Regions from separate parts of the Homo sapiens genome. Here region 1 is linked to region 2. Evidence: promoter capture Hi-C in 16 types of primary human blood cells and fetal thymus (Javierre and others, 2016). All regions are on one chromosome and are shown on one strand. Each heading gives the region's core, a stretch centred on a gene start or on the middle of the fragment in contact. The rest is flanking DNA. Distances are from core to core; before and after follow the strand shown.

Region 1 (2,700 bases), core at 90-2,589, 720 kb after region 2:
TTTGAGCCCCAGGGAATACGGTTAGCCTTGTATACAGAAAGCATTTTCCAGTTATGGGCTACCCCCTCAACTTCTAGTCATCTCACAGCCATAGTGTGGGATTTAAACCTAGGTTTGAGGCACACAATTAGGAATTGTAATAATTATGTCTTATTTGATCTTGGTATGACCAAACAAGGAGATCATATGTGGGAGCATCTCAGTAATTACAGAATATTAAAATACTGAAAAACAAATAGCATACTTATAAAATTGAAGATGGTGTGCATCTTAATGACAGAACAAGACAGAGCCTCATGTACTTATGCAGATGCCCTGGGTAGACCTACTCAAGTTTGAAGGACTATTTTGAATTATTCAATAATACTATGTCTTTAAACAAGATGATATTGAGAAAAGGTCATAGTGATTTTAAAATACAGTATCACTTTTAAGGAATGTTAACGGTTTACCAGTTGCTTTTATAACACTTTGATCTTCTTTATCAGTGTCTTGAGATAGTGCAAATTGTAGTACGTTCACTTTACCCCTGATGGAGAAAAAGTCTGAGAGACTCCAAATCCCACAGTAAGTGATGGCAGTGGGACACCAACTTAATTGGAATAATCTGCCTTTCAAATTTGTCATAGTGACCAGGATAGAACAACAAAACTATGAGAACACTGGAGATGTTCAGGTATTGAGAATTTTTCTTCAGTGATTTTGGAAGACTGATAGGGATTTAGTCAAAGTTTTAGCTCAAATCAGTGGAAAATTTCCTCAGCAACATCCTGAATTTGGGGTAGGGTTTGCCACTGCATTCCAGATAAAGATGTGGCCTCGAAGGTGAGCTGTGAGTTGGCTGTTAAGCACCCGTCACCCCCATCCCCGCCCGCTGCCCCTCAATGAAGCATCAGCTGTTTTCTGAATGACACTAAATGGGCTTAGGCTGGTTTTCTGAAACTCCCATAGCAGAATTCCACAGAAATTCCTTTGGCCTAGAATACAGAAAAGCTATGCTGTCTTTCAATGATTTGGACTGTAAAAGAACAACTAAATCTCAAGTCCACATTCTTCACTGGGCAGTCCCATTTGGGATTATTTTACAGGGCTCAACAGACTTACTAGTGCTCAGAGACAAAACACCTCAGCAAATGGCCTCCTTTTGGAAGATGATGCACATGTGGTTTTTGTGGTGTGACTTCAAATTACCTAACAGTCTGGCTGTCCCTGAATATGAGCCATTGTATCTCTTATAAAATCTAAGGTCTTAATTCACGGTCATCCAAGTGATCAGTCTTATCTAGTTGTGATCCTAGTATCATTTAGAATCCACTGGGCTACAGCCCATGAGGCAGATGCCTCTGCTGAACTCTGCCTGCAGATGTGTTTACCTCCTCTTCCTTTTTTTTTTTTCCCCCTGAGACAGAGTCTCGCTCTGTTGCCCAGGCTGGAATGCAGTGGCGCGATCTCAGCTCACTGCAACCTCCGCCTCCTGGGTTCAAGCAATTCTCCGTGCCTCAGCCTCCCCAGTTGCTGGAATTACAGCTGCCTGCCACCGCAGCCAACGAATTTTTGTATTTTTAGTAGATACGGGGTCTCACCATGTTGTCCAGGCTGGTCCTGAACTCCTGACCTCAGGTAACCTGCCTGCCTTGGCCTCCCAAATTGCTGGGATTACAGGCGTGAGCCACCGTGCCAGGCTTTACCTCTTATTCAGTAGAAAAAAGTGCCAAATACAAGTTGCTGAGAGGTTCCCTGAAGGAGGAGGAAGTGTCTTTAGCTAGGTTTCCCAATGGCTGCATCACTAGTGAAGCTCAGCTTTGAGTAGCTGGCTTCAGTAGCTCTTGGTGATAGCACTGATAGACAGGAGATTTTCTCTCAGATCCTGCCATTTAATCCAGATCCTTGAGAAAATTAGTTCAAGTTTGCCAGATATGCTATCATTTTAATTGTGTAAATCCACTGTAACATAAAAACCCGATTTGAAACAGAACAAATGCTTTAAAAGGAACTGAGATGTGGGGCACGGCGTGGTGGCTCAGGCCTGTAATCCCAGCACTTTGGAAGGTGGAGGTGGGCAGATTGATTACTTGAGCTCAGGAGTTTGAGACCAGCCTGGACAACATGGTGAAACCCCACGTCTCTACAAAAAATACAAAAATTAGCTGGGTGGGTGGCGCAAGCTGCTTGGGAGGCTGAGGCACGAGAACTGCTTGAGCCCAGGAAGTGGAGGTTGCTGTGAGCTGACATTGCGGCACTGCACTCCAGCCTGGGTGACAGAGCGAGACCCCGTCTCAAAAAAAGAAAAAAAAAAAAAAAAAGAACTGAGATGTGGCTTCTAATAATATCCCAAGTAAAATTACAACCAAATGTGAAGTTTAACTCATATTTTATATAGATTCTATGAAGGTCGTGGGAACTATAATTCCACAAAAATATACCTGGGACAAGATGTAAGGAAACGTGGGGAAAGGTATGTCACAACCCTAAGAAGTTTTTACAAGTTCCTTTTACAAAAAAATCAAGCCCTGTCCACTAACTGAGTGCAAACCAATACCAATTTCACAAAGTTACAGTACCTCTAGTTCTTGTTTCTTTAACAGTTAAAGTTTGTTTTTAAGTTAACTAGACTAGGTGTTCAAAAATTTTACAGAAGTAGACCCTTTGCTAAGAGGTCTCCAAATAATTGCTTTCAGTGGCAAAGATACTAGGTTTTTT
Region 2 (2,700 bases), core at 201-2,700:
TCCCTCAAATGATCACATACATGTTGTAGGCTTTTCTGATTTTTCTCTAAGGCACTGGCTACTCTAGATTATAGGATTTTACTCATATGTTAGGATACCCATTTCGTACTCACCCTAAAGCTGTATTCATGCTCCTTCTCTTTGTCTTACTATGTTCCTGACCTGAGCAGCATTTTCTTTCTGACTCTTAGTCACTCAAATTAACCTGCATTTCCAATCATTTATTTAAAGAAGTCCAATAAATCCAAAGATCATGGCCTATATTGCTCTACCCATTTACTTCTGCAGGGGACCAAAGATGGCACTTTGATTTCACGGTACTGAATGTGTGATGTTCTGAAAGGAATAATAGGGTAGAGGCCCCTAGGACTATTTTCCTGATGGTTGGACCAAGATTACTTCTATTATTCAAACTTAAAAATTGAGAAACTTGAAATTGGCCTACTGCAGCCCTAGTTTTCTTGGGCACTCCCTGAGGTGTAGGAACCAAACAGCTCAGCTTTTAAGAAAATATCTGAGAATGGAAAGGGTGGAGGTCATAATTAGACAGGGACGGTGGTCAAGAACATTGAGTTTTGAGTTATTGGCCTAGGTTCAAATCCTGGTATCATTTATAAACTATATGACCGTATACAAGTATTTAACTTCTCAGTGTATCAGATTATTCATATGTAAAATGGAAAACAAGCTTTCTGACAGCACCTATGTGGCTGTTGTAAGGATTAAATGAGATAATGCCTTTTAAACCTAGAATGCAGTAATCCCTGTTTGTGCTAGCCATTACAGTTGTTCCGTTCCAATGTAATTCTTCTACCTCTGTCTGAATCTGTAGGGAATTTATGCAGGACTCCATATTTGTCGAGAGGTCATGCCAGTGTGTTTAAATTCCAACCATGGGGCTCAATCCTGCGGTTGTGCCGTAGCACCTCCAAGTCATCAAGCTTGGTTTTGGTCCAATATCGTGAACTTCAGGTAGACACAAGACATCTCTCTGTAGTTATTCTAGAGAAAATGCAGTTTATAATTTACCAGGCAGTAGTAAACATTCTAGAATCAGTACTAAGTTTCTCTTTATGGAAGTAAACATGCCATCTTGATACACTTATTATTCGAAGAAGCAAAAGTAGATACGTTCTTACAGAAGGCAAAAAAAAAAAAATTTTGCTAAGTGAAGTAAAAAATGTACTACTCTCTGCTTCTTCCCACAGTATCCATAAATATGCTGAGGCCGTTTATTTTGCCAGATGGGTTTTGAGACCCTGCTGAAACAAGAGATGCTCTCATTTATATTTCCCTCAAATTCTACCACAAACCACACTCGGGAGGGAAAAGAAAAAGTCGCCACGTAAGCATGTTTACCTTCAAGTGACTGGGAAGTGGAAACCTATCCATAAGTGATGACTCACCATTGCAGGCCTATAAAAGTAAAGGTAATCTCTGCGGAAAGACAACAGTCCCCAGGCATCACCATTCAAGATGCATCCAGGGGTCCTGGCTGCCTTCCTCTTCTTGAGCTGGACTCATTGTCGGGCCCTGCCCCTTCCCAGTGGTGGTGATGAAGATGATTTGTCTGAGGAAGACCTCCAGTTTGCAGAGGTAGAGTATCTTGCCAATCCTGATGATGCGGTTGGTACATCTCAGAAATGTCCTTCTCTTTTAAACGCAGTTCATTTTGGTGTCTTTTCTAGCGCTACCTGAGATCATACTACCATCCTACAAATCTCGCGGGAATCCTGAAGGAGAATGCAGCAAGCTCCATGACTGAGAGGCTCCGAGAAATGCAGTCTTTCTTCGGCTTAGAGGTGACTGGCAAACTTGACGATAACACCTTAGATGTCATGAAAAAGCCAAGATGCGGGGTTCCTGATGTGGGTGAATACAATGTTTTCCCTCGAACTCTTAAATGGTCCAAAATGAATTTAACCTACAGGTAAATCATAGGCTATCTTTCTTTCATATTTGTTAGCCTTTTCTTGTAGTATTAAATGTCTAATATTAAGTAGGCCTTATTATTTAATTGGCAGTTAAATTCCAGAATAGCTTTAATATGGTTGCCGAGAATACCTCATAACATCTATTATTGTTACATTAACTCAGCATTATTTTTTAGTGGGCATCTCAAAGTATTTCTTTTAGAGATGAAATCAAAAGAGAAATAAAAGTAGGTTAAAGAAAATTTGCAAACATAGTACATTAGGTGTATTTATTACAACAGTGCTCAAGATGAAGAGTTCCACTCTTTCTAGAAACTTTACAGAGCTATTTCATTTATTTGAGCTTTATCAATGTAATCTAAACTTTTAGCATGCAAAATAAATTATATTAAACATTGGAATATTTTAAATTTAAGATGCCACATGGTCAGATATTTGGAGATACTCAAATGTGGCTGAATTTTTGACTTTTTATTCTTGTATGGCATCATAATTAATACATTATTTGAAACAATAAACCTCTAGTAGAACTTTCAAAGAAATTATTGCATTTTGAATTGAAAAGCAATATACCAAGAAAATGTATTCTAAAATAGCTGTCACTTTCCAAAAAGTTCATTGAAACTTTCTCTGTTAAATAGAATTGTGAATTACACCCCTGATATGACTCATTCTGAAGTCGAAAAGGCATTCAAAAAAGCCTTCAAAGTTTGGTCCGATGTAACTCCTCTGAATTTTACCAGACTTCACGATGGCATTGCTGACA

The links. The method cuts DNA at HindIII sites, captures the fragments that hold promoters and counts their contacts. A CHiCAGO score of 5 or more calls a contact.
Region 1: a fragment that was not itself captured here is called in contact with the fragment with the promoter of MMP13 in region 2 in 1 of 17 cell types (M0 macrophages); the score reaches 5.2 in M0 macrophages.

What each region holds. Positions count from the first base shown.
Region 1 is chr11:102,235,710-102,238,409 of GRCh38, reverse strand. No RefSeq gene overlaps it. Among named protein-coding and RNA genes, the nearest start is that of BIRC3, 80 kb to the left of the region's middle. The HindIII fragment of the contact is 3,342 bases long and covers 1-2,700 here.
Region 2 is chr11:102,954,482-102,957,181 of GRCh38, reverse strand. It overlaps MMP13 (matrix metallopeptidase 13), which reads left to right and starts at 1,450. Exons shown (of 10, transcript NM_002427.4): 1 at 1,450-1,596; 2 at 1,689-1,930; 3 at 2,576-2,700. The coding sequence starts at 1,477. RefSeq lists an enhancer at 818-2,017. The HindIII fragment of the contact is 7,221 bases long and covers 944-2,700 here.